2 separate regions of the Homo sapiens genome follow, and region 2 is linked to region 1. The links are contacts of gene promoters, found by promoter capture Hi-C in human tissues and cell types (Jung and others, 2019). All regions are on one chromosome and are shown on one strand. Each heading gives the region's core, a stretch centred on a gene start or on the middle of the fragment in contact. The rest is flanking DNA. Distances are from core to core; before and after follow the strand shown. Region 1 holds the start of ILKAP (ILK associated serine/threonine phosphatase). Region 2 overlaps RAMP1 (receptor activity modifying protein 1).

Region 1 (7,418 bases), core at 4,367-6,866:
CAATCCTATGATGATAATCCTGAGATTTTATAAAATCTCTGGAAATAATTTTTGCATCATCAAAAGAATCTAACTTAGAAGTCTGTATGTGGATTCTTTAAAAAAAAATCTATAGGTCATAGATACATAAGGAAACTACTGATTAGTCAAAACCTTAGATTTTTTTTTTTTTAAATTGAGACAAGAGTCTCGCTCTGTGAGCCAGGTTGGAGTGCAGTGGTGTGATCACAGCTCACTGCAGCCCCAACCTTCTGGGCTCAAGCAATCCTCCCTCGTCAGATTCCCGAGTAGCTGAAACTACAGGCATACACCACCATGCCCAGCTAATTTTTTAACTTTTTGTAGAGACGGGGTCTCACTATGTTGCCCAGGTTGGTCACGAACTACTGTACTCAAGCAATCTTCCTGCCTCAGCATCCCAAAGTGCTGGGATTACAGATGTGACCCACTGCTCCAGGCCCTTACATTCTATTTTGAATAAACTGAAATTCAAAGCATTGGGGGCTGCAATCATTGGACAAAGTGTGACCCTGACCTAAAAATCTGGAAGAGGCCCCTCCCCTAATCTTAAAAATATTAGAACCCTAATAAGAATACAAGACTAAAAATGTCCATTAATCATAGTTAATCTCATCTAGAACTTTTTTTTTTCCTCAGTTATCTACATTCTGGAGCTAAGTCTACTGGAAGTTATATACTATGCTGAGAAAAATACCCTTGGGTTGATCATATTCAGGTTAAAGGTTGCTGTATCCAATAAAGTTAAAAAAGGATGTTAAAATATTTTGGCTAAATTGTTTTTTATACCTCAATTTTTTCAACTATAAAATAAATCCAGGTGTTTTCCAAACACCACAGAGGTATTATCAGAAAAAAGGGGGGACAGGTTCCGCCACACCCCCCAACCACAGTATGAGTTTAGTGTATCCTTTCCACTTTCCTTAATGCTCATGCACATGGACTCATGCATTTTAATTTGTAGAAGACAGAGTCATACTCTACACAATACTCCACATATAGTGTTCACATAACCCATCAAGGCATGCTCCAGGCCAACACACCCAAGTCTAATTCATCCTCTCCAACAGCCACACATGGGAAGCATCTCCACTCATTCGACCAGATCCTTACTGATGGGTTCAAGCTTTTCCCAGTTCTTCATATGATAAGTGACGCCACAATCAACAATCTGATACATGTATTCCTGCTTAATCTGCTAGACTGCTCGTCAAAGGATATTAGTTTAAATCTGATAGAAGCCAAAATCTGTTCCCCAAAAAGTTGTAATTTTCACTCCCAAAACACTTTATGAGAAAGTCTACTTCGCTACACATTCACCAATGTTACCAACTGTTGCTAATCTGATGGGTGAAAAGGTAAATAGTTCCTCAGCAACTTTCTGTTGATGGGCCATTTGTATTCCTTACCTCTGAACTGGGAGGATACATCCTTTGACCATTTTTCTAGTGGGTTTTATTTTTTCCCATCAATTCTGTGAGCCTTTCTTATACCCTTAGTAATGTATATTGCAATTATTTTCTCGGTTTGTCTTTTGCCTTTATAGTATCATTTGTCCTGCAGAAATTTTAAATTTTTACATAGTCAAATTCACTTTTTTATGACTTTTTTCTTGTTCAACCCTGTAGTTTTACAATCTGTTTTCCTCTAATACCTTAACCTTTATGTTCAAATATTCTTCTTTTTTTTTTTTAATCGTAGAGACAGGGGTCTCACGAAGTTGTGCCAGGCTCTTCTCAAATTCCTGGCCTCAAGCCATCCTCCTGCCTTGTTCCCCCAAAGCGCTGGGATTACAAGTATGCGCCATCGAGCCCAGCCTCCAATTTTTTTAAAGTATTTTTAAGATGGTGTGGCCATCAAATATTTTATTTCCTCCTCAACAACTGACCATCAATTTTTAAAGTACTAGTGTAGCAACCAAATAAGTAAAAGAACCACCCTATAAAAGTGAAATCAAGTTACTGGCGAAGCAATTTTAAACCATGACACCTTCAACTGACATACATGGATTGTCAATATAAGCTGCCAATCTTAAAGACATCAGGTCGGCACTTTTATGGGTATGACATAGGAAAGTTCCATTTCTGCCTGATATGAACAAACACTTTTTTTTAGGTAAAATATATACATCTCTCCTTTAAAAAACTTGATTCATTCAGCAATTAAAACTTTTAAGGGCTTGGATGAAAACTACTAATTTAGCAAAATACCTGAAATATTTAGTGCATTCTATGTATTTTTCTAGATTATAAACATTTAAGAGGTTTAGGGGTGGGAACATTAGATGCAACGTTTAAAACAAAAATAAAAAGATCTAAACAAAATATTAATACATTTGATGTGATATAAGCAGTGTAGTATTCTCCCTTTGGACACTCAGTGCTTTCCCATAATTCATTTAAGACTGCGTTTTTCCACTTTTAAACAACTGTTAATGGCTCAGCCAGGCACAGTGGCTTACCACTGTAATCCCAGCACTCTGGGAGGGCCAAGGTGGGCAGAACACTTGAGCCCCAGGAGTTCGAGAGCAGCCTGGGCAACATGGCAAAGCCTTGTCTCTACAAAACATACAAAAATTAGCTGGCTGTGGTGGTGCGCACCTGTAGTCCCAGCTACCAAGGAGGCTGAGGTGGAAGAATCACCTGTGCCCACGGAGGTCGAGACTGCAGTGAGCTGTGTTTATGTCACTGCACTCCAGCCTGGGCGACACAATGAGGCTGTCTCAAAAATAATAACCCTGGCTAACATCTATAAAACACTATACATTCTACCCCACACTATGTGCAGCACCATACATACTGTACTAATTTGTACAGTAACAGTGGCAAGTGTCACCCCTTTTTACACATGTAGGAATAGCCACAGAAGGCACAGTTAGTAAGCGAAGAGCTGGATTCTAAACCAAGTAGTCTGGTTACACTTTCTGAACAACTTTTCTTGCGCTCTGGGAAAATAACGAGGTCTTTTATTGTTCACTGCATTAGAGATTTGTGGTACCCACATATCATGTGTGAGGGTCATGATGCACAGTTTAGACTCATTATTCCATTCACTTTAGCAATCAATATGATTTATTCAAAGTATGTTTTTTTTTTTTAAATCACAGTATTTTCACAAGTATGTGAAACCAGATTCTGTTCTTGTACAAACGATTTTAACCTGTCAAATCTCATCTTGTTGGTTGTAGCTAACAGCCTGCAATGATAACTATGGATCCCAATTGTCACTCATTTTAGTACTTATCCCTCTCAGCTTCCAATCATCTACAAATTCTGAGATCTTCTTCGTTTTAAAGCTATTTTTAAAAATACACTCAGCCAAGCAGGACCTGTTGACAATGTCAGTGCCCTCCTGGCAGATGGGGAGCAGCTGACCAATCCAATCTCAGGGTGGTCAGCAGTTTAAACACCATGCACCCCCTCTGCCACCCTTTCAGCTCAGTCAAGGTTGGAAACTGAGTTTGGAAAAAACGGCAACAGGATGTACCTTTCCCACTGTATCTGGCAAAAGGCTGCTAAGGTGCCAACCTATGAGATTCTGAGTTGCCAGGTTTTTTGTCAGTCAAGGGAGCCTGCTCCTGAGCAGAACCTAATTAATTGCAGGTAAAAAGCAATGGAGATTTTAAGACTCATAGGTTTACACGCACACTGGTGAATCCAAATGCTGTCCCAAATATATTCAGATAGAAATTATACTCCATTGACAAGAGAAAAAAGACTGCTACACAAATCCAATTTTTACCCACAGCTAAAACCGTGGTTATTTTGAAAATGAATGGCTGAGTCAAGTTCAAAGACTCCAGGACCAGTTACTGAGATGCTCTGTACCATCAGAACGGTCAGTGGGGGCAGGGCACGGTGGCTCACACCTGTAATCCCAGCAATTTGGGAGGCCGAGGCGGGCGGATCACCTGAGGTCAGGAGTTCAAGACCACCCTACCCAACATGGTGAAACCCCGTCTCTACTAAAAATATAAAAATTAGCCGGGTGTGGTGGTCGGCGCCTGTAATCTCAGCTAGTAGGGAGGCCTAGGCAGGAGAATTGTTTGAACCCGGAGGTTGCAGTGAGCTCAGATCTCACCATTGCACTCCAGCCTGGGCGACAAGAGTGAGACTCCGTCTCAAAAAGTAAAATAAAATAAAATGTTTTCTCGCCCAGAATTACTGCAAATCACAAGCCTGAACATCCTTGGAAGCTCAATTCAAACACTGCCTCCTTCCCCAGTCTCTCGGTGCCCGACAATCCCTCCTCAAGAGTCCTCAGCATTTCCCACAGTCATTAACTTTTGCCAGTTTTAATTACCGTAATTAGTACCCTTCAGAAAGCAGCTCTTAGAAAGCGAAGGCTGGGCCTTACTCACCTCCGTCTACCCTACAACAGCAGCTCCCAAACCACTGGTCTCCAGCCCCCGCTGGGTTGGCCTGGGGATTTAGTAACAGATTCGGAAACCCCACTCTCAGGGATTCGGATTTACTGGGGCTGAGGTGGGCCTGGAAATCTGAACGTCTTAAGTTTTCCAGGTTTTCTGCCCCCAAGTTAAATTTTGTAATAAGGCCCTAAACTACAACATCAAGCTGGAAGTCTTGCATATGAAATATTCACGCGTTTTGACAGATGAAACCCGGAGACTGTAACCCACAGGACGCAGGGATTAACACAGGCCCTGTTTCAAGCTGCTAGGATGCTGAGCTCAAACCACAGCCCACAGGGACTCCCACTGGCAGGGGCCAGCGCTTAGGAGATGAGCGGACCCCTTAACTTCAAGGAGAGGGGGAACTTCCCGTGGACCAGAAAAAAAAAAAAAAAACTACTGTTAATTATCACAAAATCACAGGATGACAGAGGAGGCATCCTGTCTTCCAGGCTTCAAAAACACGAAGGATTAAGATGGTGATTAATTCAATCTCCAGTGCAAATAAAAACGCCAAGCCCCTGAACTTGCACCGGCCCGGAACGCGGCCGTTCCACAGCCCGCGGGTGAAGTGCGGCCCGGAAGCCGCGGGCGGGCGACGCGCAAGGCAGCCCAGGCCGCGGGTGGAATCGGGGCGCGGGGGCCCGCGGTGCCGCCGGGCGTTCAGAGCCGGTCCCTCGGGTCGGCCCACGCGGTCGCGCCGGCGCCTTTCACCGCCACGCAGAGGGGCCGTGGCCACGACGGCTCGGCCCTTTCCTTCCTGCGTAGCGAAAATGGCGGAGCGGCCTCTCCGAGCTCCGCGAGCGACCGGGCCTCCGACAGGGCCGCCAGTGGGCCGGACGGGGCCTGGCCAGGCAGGAGCAGGCCCCGTGCAGCCCGCGCCGCCCGCCGCCTCCCAGCGCGGGCGCCGCCTCAGCCGCCCCGGGCCTCAGGCCGCCCCCATCCCGCCTGCTCTCCCTTCCCTGGCCGGCCCGGCGGCAACGCCGCTTACCGGCAGCCGGGCGCGGCGAGCGCTCGGGCTCCGGCAGGTCCCCGAAGAGGTCCATGGCGGAGGCTGGGTGGAGGCGGCAGCAGCGACAGACACTCAGCCCGCGAGCAGCGGCCGGGCTCCACACCCCGGGCGGGCGGCAGCAGCGGGCGGGCGACGGGCAGGGGCGGCCGGCGCCGTCAGTCACCTGCAGGGAGAGTCCCGGACGCCACCAATCGGCGCGCGGCGTGGCCCGGCCGCCCCAGAGGGCTGCGCGCGGGCTGGGCGGGGCGGCTGGGGGCGGGGCGGTGCGCATGCGCGTGGGCCCCTCCCGCGCCCCGACTGCGAGCCGGGCGGACGGCGCCGTCTGGGCCCCGCGGTGTTTCCCGCCTTGGCGAACCCCGGGCCCCTCCTGCTTTTCCTTGGCTGGGGGTGTCCGATTTCTGTCAAGTTTCGTTGAGTTCCTGTCCAAGAAGCCCTGTCCAGAGAGAAACGTCTGAGCTCAAGGGCAGCCCCTGATGCCTGGGAAGGCTTTCTGGAGCTCTTGCCATCTCTTCGGCTCGTCCTTTCACCACGGCGTGCCTGGTTTCTGGCCTGTTTTAGAGACTGAGAAACCGAGGCTTGGATGGAGCGGCCCTGGGCGTCAGGACGGAAACCTCAAAAGATGCCGGAGGGAAAGGAGGCATTCCCTGACTTGTCTGCACCCACTGGTGTCTGTGGGGAGCGGAGAAGAGGGGCTCCTCCTTAATGGTGTCCCCCTCCATGCCTGTAAAGAGAAAGGCGGCCACTGACATCGGGGAGCTGGCCTGGTTCTGCAGCCAGGACTTGGGGTTGGTCTGGCACAAACAGCTAGGCCTGGGTGTTCTCTTTGAATGTGAACAATTTCATAAAACACCAACATCAGGCCGTGATACAGATCAAGAGAAAAAAACAGACCACTGTGTAATCAAGTGTGAACACAGACAAAACAGGAACACTGTCCAAGCCACAAAAGTGACCACATTCCCCTCGTCTTGGCCAATAAGAGTGATTGCTGCTTCTTTACCATTACATGTTTAGCCTTTGTCTCGTCCTCCTGCCGTCTAGATAAGCTTCATCAAGATATCCAATCATGGAATCCTCCTCTTCCTGACATCCAATCCGGAGCAAAGGCCCGTTTCCATAAATGTTTCCCCAAATCAACTAACACAAACCCAAATCTTACACCTCCGTTCCAACATCGTTTACCCAAGTTCCCCAGGTTATGTGGTCTCCCTCCATGCAAAGAGTTTTCAGCCCAGTTCATTCTGGGGCAGATGTATTTCTGACGCTCTCTGGCTGTAGGACATGGAGGGAGCCCAACAAGGCTTCATGCCTCTCATCTGCGTGGCTTCTCACTAGCAACCGTTTGAGATATTCATGCTGCCTCCTCCATTACAGCAGAAACACTCAAGTAACAATGCTTGTAACCGTTAAAGAAAGAGGAAATAAATACAAAAAGCGGCTCAACATTAAAAGGTTTATTTCAGAGAATAAACCTGAGAGGGGATTCTGGCCAATTTCGATCAGGAGCGCTCTCTCTTACAGACTAAGCATTCTCTCTTACAGACTAAGGATATTTAAGGGTTTTGGAAGTGGGGGAACGTTTATTGCAGGGTTGGAATGTCTCTGGTCGGAGGGGAGGCTATTGGAGGAGAGGTTATTTCAGGGTTAGCATGTTTCTGGTTGAAGAGAGGTTTATCTTAGGGTTGGAATATTTCTGGTTATGCTGACATTAGCCGTTAGGCTGATGTTTTGGGGTAGGATTTAGGTGGTTTTTTAATCAAGGGGAACTTAGAAAGGTGGTGTTTGTCCAAGATGGCAATGCTCCTGCTCTATCAATCCAGTCTCTATAGTTATGAAAAGGACAAGGGGCAGCGCATTTTTTCTGGCTACTTCCTGCTGGGGGAGTGAGCAGAGAGTTCTTTGGTTTCAGATTGATTGTAGGAGTAACGCTGTCTGTAGATGTTTTTGGGTAATTGTCTGTGAGATGGCCATGATCCT
Region 2 (7,347 bases), core at 769-3,268, 300 kb before region 1:
CTGGCTGCCTAAATGCGAAATAAGCCTGTTGCTGGCTGCCACGAAAATGCCACTGTGTTCCAGTCCTAAATGGGGTGCATGCTATTGGTTTGAGACAGTGATTTTTTTTTTTTCTTTGAGACTGGGTCACACTCTGTCACCCATGCTGGAGTGCAGTGGCATGATCTCCGCTCGCTGCAACCTCCGCCTCCCGGGTTCAAGCAATTCTCCTGCCTCAGCCTCCTGAGTAGCTGGGACTACAGGCACACGCTGCCACACCCAGCTAATTTTTTGTATTTTAGTAGAGATGGGGTTTCACCGTGTTGCCCAGGCTGGTCGCGAACTCCTGACCTCAGGTGACCCGCCCGCCTCGGCCTCCCAAAGTGCTGAGATTACAGGCGTGAGCCACTGCACCTGGCCGAGAGAGAGATTTTTATCACATGAAGAAAATAGCTTCTTTCTGTGTTTTCAAGGTTGTGGCTTTTTTAAAATCAGAAAAGAATATTGAGTTTTCTCAAATGCCTTCTCAATGCGTATTAAAATGACGGTACATTTTTTTCCCATGGTGTATTAAAGTGTGATTTTGTAGTAACAGGTTTAAAGCATTCCTGAAATTAGCCCTCCTTTAAATAAAATATGCTATGTGGCTAGATGAAGTTTGTTAGCATTGGGTAGGGGACTTGAGTGTCTATTTATAGGTGGAAGCGAAGGGCATCTGTTCCGTCCGTGTGCGCATGCGTTGAGACGCATGTCATGCCATCTCAAGAGGCTTGGGATCAGGGTTTGTTAACTTTTTTAAATGAACTGGGAAGCTGCACATCTTTTTCTTTCACTTTAAGAATTTGCAGTGGCTCACGCCTCCCACACCTGTAATCCCAGCACTTTGGAAGGCCGAGGTGGGAGGATCGCTTGAGCCCAGGAGTTTGAGACCAGCCTGAGCAACATAGTGAGAACCTGTCTCAATTAAAAAGAAAAAAAAAGAATTTGAAAGAACTGCCTGGGATCTAGTGCCTTTTGAAACAGCAATTCTTTAATAACATTTGCCATTTTTCTTCTTGGAATTCCTCCTTTTTAAGTCGATATTTGATAGTTTATAATTTAACCAAAAAGTATCCCAATTCACTGAGGATTTTCCAATTTTTAACAAACCTTTTTTACGTATTAATCTCTTATACTTCTTCTTTTTCTTTTCTGTTTTTTGTTTTTTGTTTATTTGTTTGTTTGTTTAGGACAGTGTCTGGCTCTGTCGCCCAGGCTGGAGTGCAGTGGCACGATCTCGACTCACTGCAACCTCTGCCTCCTGGGTTCACGGCATTCTCGTGCCTCAGCCACTCAAGTTAACTGGGACTACAGGTGTGTGCCACCATGCCTGGCTAATTTTGATATTTTCAGCAGAGATGGGGTTTCGCCATGCTGCCCCGGCTGGTCTTGAACTCCTGAGCTCAAGTGATCTGCCCACCTCGGCCTCCCAAAGTGGTGGTATTACAGGCGTGAGCCACCGCACCTGGCCTATATTGCTTCTAATAATTATTGATGGACAAATTATGTGCCATTTGGAGAGATTTATTTTGTTCTTTTTAAAAAATATCTTGCTTTGGATACTTATTTTGTTTATTTTCATTTATTTTTGTTTAATAAAATAATTTATAACTATTAATTTTTCTCAGAATTCACTTTTGCCCCATTCCATTCATTTGTACATATAGTATTGCCGATCTTGTTCTCTTAATATTTTGTAATTGAATTTTTAAATTCTCCTGTGACTTCGAAATTATATAAATGATCTTTCATTTCTAGGAATTCCATTTTTTTAAATTTATCCTTTTTTTAAAACTAATTTTTAGTTTTCAGTATTGTAGCCTGAGAATATTGACTTATGATTTATACTCTGGGGATTTGATGAGTCTCTTTTTGCCGCCTAACACAGACCCAGGGGCCTTTGAAAAGCCGGCTGAGTCTCTGTAGAATAGAACCTTTATCAGACAGTCACTGCATCGGTTTATTAACATTATTTTTCATAATCACTTTATGCTACTGTTTATCTACCTAGCCTTGGGAGGTGTGTTTAAGTCTCCCACGTGTCTTGCGTTCCTGGCAGCTGCGGGCTGTCTGTACGCTGTGGCGCAGTGCCAGCTGTCCTGGGTGGAGCATCCCCATCAGCCCCACTGATGGCCCTTCTCACCGGCCTGGGCCAGGTCTGCTGGGAAGCCCACACCCCTGCTCACCTTCTGTCTGCGTCTCCTGGGTACATCCCTCTCTCGCTGTCTTCCTTCAGGCTTTGTTTCACTTTGCCTTGGAGGTGGCCACTGTGACCAGAGTAAGGGGGATTTTTGCTCTTACCCTCCCTGCCCCGGTGGTGTCTGCAGTCTGGTTGTTGAGACCAACAGTGGGTGAATAATCACATGAGTTCATGGACAGCCACAAAGTAACACCCATCTATGAAGGAAAACCCCACTTTGCTGGGGAAGCCAAATATGATTGAAGCATCCAGAAAAGGCCTCTTTGAGGACGTGACATTTAAGCGAAGGGCGAGCATAGGGTGGCCTTGTGAAGATGAGGCTAAGAGCTTTCCAGTTAAAAGGAACAGCATGTGCAAAGGTCCTGAGGCAGAACACTGGCCACTGTGGCTAGAATGTGGCCAGCAGGAGGGAGGGGACCCAGTTGAGTGACCCACACAGAAGCTTCTGAATCTGGGACAGGTGTAATGGTGAGCACTGAAGGCGTGAAGCAGGGGTGGGAAGGTGTGGACGGTGGGCTTGGGCAGCGGCCAGGGTGTGGGATGTGGCCTGGAGAGCCCGTGGTAGCTAAGCCCAGCATGCAGAGTGGAGGGCGGTGGAGGGGTTTGATGGCTGCCCCTGACTAAACTGGGGGAGGCAGAAGAAGGGGTAGATAGATGCCAAGCCCCCACATACTCACTACAGAAAAGTGGAAGCTGGTATGTAAGTTGTAATAACCCATCCACCAGGACGAGTCACTTCTGCCCCATCCTGGGCACAGTGATGGGGCCTCAGGAGGGGAGGGCACCCTTGAGGGAAAGGGGAGCCATGATAACTCAGGGGATAGGCATGGCATGGGGGCCCTGAGTCACATGTGTTCACAGCCAGAAGTGAACAGCCCAGGCTTCAGGTGGAGGAGGGAGAATGGGGAACTCTCAGGTGCAGCCCAAGGCCGAGAGAGAAGGAGCACTTCGCGGGGGATGCCTCTCCTCCGGGGGCTGGTAAGGGCCCGGGGTCTTCAGTGAGTGAGGATGCCCCACTGCCACCCGGAGCAAGGCTGGAGTGAGGATGAGGTGGGGGCCTGGAGCAAGGGCGAGGTGGAAGAGGGAGGGGTAAGGAGGGATCGGGAGGAGGAGGAGGGGCTGGGAGGAGGAGGGAGGGATCAGGGGGTGGAGGAGGGGCTGGGAGGAGGAGGGAGAGGCCAGGAGGAGAGAGGGATCAGGAGGAAGAGGAGGGGCCAGAAGGACAGGGAGATGGAGGAGGGAACAGGAGGACCAGGAGGACGCAGAGGTCTCCGCAGAGGGGGTGGGGGGAACACAGCGAGGAGGAAAGTGGGGTCCTGCCCCCAGGGCCCACCCCGCACCCCCACTCACCCTTCCACAGAGCCCCTTCCTGCCTCAGAGTTGGGTCCCGCGGGGCCCCCAGTTCCACGCAGGAGGCCACTGAGACTGGAGAGGCCCAACGCCCCGTCCCCGCTCCCTGTCTGCCCTGCACGCCTCCCCCATGAGCCGCTGTCACCAGAGGGTCCCAGCCCTGCCTGCACATCAGAGCCCTCTGGTGGGAAGACCCAGGCTGCCCCAGACACCAGGCACGGTGGCTGCAGATGCAGTGACGCCAACATCTAGTTTCCTGTGAGCCTTCCTGCTAAAATGAGCTGTTAAATATAATTATAAAAAGTATGTATGCTCAAGGTAGAAAACCCAAAAAAGTTGAGAGAAAAGTCCTTCGTGTTATTACCATTCTGGTGGGGATCACTCCTGTGACATTCTGCTGTGTCCCCCTCCCATGTGGACCATTTTACCCCAATCCAGGCTGTTTATGGCACCTGGTCTAACCTGCTGCTGCTTTTCAAAACTTTATTTATTTATTTAGCAGAGAGACTGGGTCTCACTAGGTTGCCCAGGCTGGTCTTGAACTCCTGGCCTCAAGCGATCCTCCTGCCTCAGCCTCCCAAAGTGCTAGGATCACAGGCATGAGAGCTGTTCTTCTGCCCAGCTTTAGAACATAAATGTTTTTCCACATCTTAAAATTTTCTTCCTAAATATAATTTTAACAGCTACATAATGGAGCCACTCATAAACAATTTCTGTGACCGCTGTCCTGTTGTTTGCTGTTTTTCATAATTATAAATCTGCAGTGGACACCTTCTTACATCACTGTTATCTATATTTCACATTATTAATTTAGGATAATTCCCAGTAATGCAATTACGGGGTCAAGAGGCATCCGTGAGTTTGAGATTATTGATACATATTGCCAAATTGTGTTTCAGAAAAATTGTACCAGTTTATCTTCCCTGAGGATTGCTATGAGTGCCTGCCTCAGTATCCTACACCTTCACTAGCATTCAGCATTATTTTCTTTTTTTTTGAGACAGGGTCTTATTCTGTTGCCCAGGCTGGAGTGCAGTGGCAGGAACATAGCTCACTGCAGCCTCAATCTCCCACCTCCCTGGGCTCATGTGATCCTCTGACCTAAGCCTCCCAACTAGCTGGGACTACAGGTGCATCCCAGCACTGGCAAATGTTTGTTGTTGTTGTTTCTTTAAGACAGAGTCTCGCTCTGTCACCCAGGCTGGAGTGCAGTGGTGCGATCTCCGCTCGCTGCAACCTCCACCTCCCAGGTCCACGCCATTCTCCTGCCTTAGCCTCCCGAGTAGCTGGGACTACAGGCACCCGCCACCACGCCCGGCTAATTTTTTGTATTTTTGGTAGAGTTGGGGTTTCACTGTGTTAGCCATTTTGTATTTTTTTGTAGAGACAAGGTCTCACTATGTTTCCCAGGCTGCTCTCAAACTCCTAGGCTCAAGCAATCCTCCGGCCTAGGCCTCCCCCAGCGTTGGGTTTACACGTGTGAGCCACCACGCCCAGCCTAGCATTCTCCTTTTTAAGAGGAGTGCCATCTGGATGTTTGGTCTTTCATTTCACATGCTTAGTAGTCATTTGTATTTCTAGAAGAAATATTGGGCCGGGCTCAGTGGCTCACGCCTGTAATCCCAGCACTTTGGGAGTCTGAGGCGGGCGGATCACGAGGTCGGGAGATCAAGACCATCCTGGCTAACACGGTGAAACCCCGTCTCTACTAAAAATACAAAAAAAAAAAATAGCCAGGGCGTGGTGGCGGGCACCTGTAGTCCCAGCTACTCGGGAGGCTGAGGCAGGAGAATGGCATGAACCCAGGAAGTGGGGCTTGCAGTGAGCTGAGATCATGCCACTGGACTCCATCCTGGGCAACAGAGCAAGACTCTGTCTCAAAAATAGAATAAAAATCAAAATAAATAAATAAATGAAAGTTAGCCAGGTGTGGTGGTGCACGCCTGTAATCCCAGCTATTCTGGAGGGTGAGGCAAGAGGATCACCTGAGCCCGGGAGGCAGAGGTTGCAGTGAGCCAAGATCGTGCCACTGCACTCCAGCCCGAGCAACAGAGCAAAACGCTGTCTAAAATAATAAATAAATTTTAAAAAGCGAATATAAAGCCAAAAGTGCTTTCCCCTCAGATTTTCTGACAATTTAGACACACATTGCCTGGTCACCTTTTGCTTAAGTATAAACTCAAAAAGGACAAGAAATGTATACGTCATGAGCCAGTCAAGTGAGGACCTGTATCTTTATCTTAATAGGAGACTAAGACTTGAACAAGCGAATGAGGTCTCCAGGATCACTCTGGGTAAGAGGTGGAGCTGGGATTTGAACCCAGGTCTATGGGTGACAGGGCCCAGGCTCAGATATTTCATATTAGGGCCAGCCGGGGGTAGCTGGGGGACAACTGCAACCCAGGGTGTCCCCAGAGTAGATGACTCACCTGTGAGCATCAGTGATCACACTTTCTTACCAGCAAGTAACCATGAACAGTGGTGTCGGGCCTTGACTTGGGACCCAGATATGCTGGAAACTCCCACCATAGGATTCAGGAACATTCCAAGCAAAGTTTGCTTCGAGCCCCAGAATAGAAGGTCCTAGCCAAAAAAGGATAATTACTCAGTGACACGAGAACTGAAACTTTAGGGAGTTAAAGCCAGGGTGTATTTTTCATGACTATTTTGGGTCCTTCAGTCCGTTCTGTGTTCTTTTGGGCAGAAGAATGTCTGTACTCTGAGGGGAATTCTTTTATCACATCCTCACTGACGGAGCTCACAACATTTATTGAAAGTTTCAGCTGTCACTTCTGTATAAATAAACAGGATGAAGTGGGCAGCCGACTGCACATTAGAGATATTTTTAGACGTGGGTGGCACTGCAATCCAGAAGGCTGACATATCAAGGAGAGAGTGCCTGATCCCAGAATAGCCCACCCACACACGGCCCTATCTGCCTCAGCGTGGCCTCGGCGTGGGTTCTGTGGTGGCGTGGCTTCCTGCATCCGCTCCTTCCTGTTCTGTTTGGCCAGTGCAGAGATGGCAATAGCTCCTCCTAAAAATGCCACAGCTCCGCTCCTCAGAGGACAGGGGTCAGTGTTCAGGATCATGTGTCACTGGATCTGCAGAACACCAAAAACTAAACTGCCTGCGGGTTTGGTGGGTCTGAGATATGGGAGAGGATCATCATTCAAAGCAGGCTTCATTGGTCAGATGCAGTGGCTCACGCCTGTAATCCCAGCACTTTGGGAAGCCAAGGAGGGTAGATCACCTGAGGTCAGGAGTTCGAGACCAGCCTGGCCAACATAGTGAAACCCCATCTCTACTAAAAATACAAAAATTAGCCAGGCATGGTGGACCATGTCTGTAGTCCCAGCTACTTAGGAGGCTGAGGCAGGAGAATCGCTTGAACCTGGGAAGCGGAGGTTGCAGTGAGCTGAGATTGTACCACTGCACTCCAGCCTGGGCAACAGAGCAAGACTCTGTCTCAAAAAAAAAAAAAAAAAAAAGGCAGCATTCTCACTGTTTAGCCCTGTAGTTGAGAAGGCTGGACTTGGTTTTCAGCAACAATAACACGTCTAACATTTACCATGGACCGGCCACATAACGTGCACTCATTCGTTTTTCCCCCACGATGAGACTCAAACCGTCACGACTTCATGTGGCTTTTTCCACTTCTGTTTTCTTCTTGAAACATGAGTCCTTGTTCACCTGGAGAGACCACACACCCCAATGCCTACAGGCACGGCACACTCTCTGCTGCCTCTCCCTCCTCATGCCTCATCTACTAGGCCTCT

Evidence for each region. The method cuts DNA at HindIII sites, captures the fragments that hold promoters and counts their contacts. A contact is called where the count stands out against the background at its distance.
Region 2: a fragment that was not itself captured here is called in contact with the fragment with the promoter of ILKAP in region 1 in 1 of the 25 tissues and cell types used here (small bowel).

Annotation. Positions count from the first base shown.
Region 1 is chr2:238,198,079-238,205,496 of GRCh38, forward strand. ILKAP (ILK associated serine/threonine phosphatase) reads right to left here and starts at 5,617. Exons shown (of 12, transcript NM_030768.3): 1 at 5,421-5,617. The coding sequence starts at 5,475. RefSeq lists enhancers at 4,604-4,663, 5,626-6,498 and silencers at 5,034-5,123, 5,244-5,813. The HindIII fragment of the contact is 8,585 bases long and covers 1-7,418 here.
Region 2 is chr2:237,898,972-237,906,318 of GRCh38, forward strand. All of the region lies in intron 2 of RAMP1 (receptor activity modifying protein 1), which reads left to right. Among named protein-coding and RNA genes, the nearest start is that of RAMP1, 43 kb to the left of the region's middle. RefSeq lists enhancers at 1, 82-191. The HindIII fragment of the contact is 6,975 bases long and covers 1-5,506 here.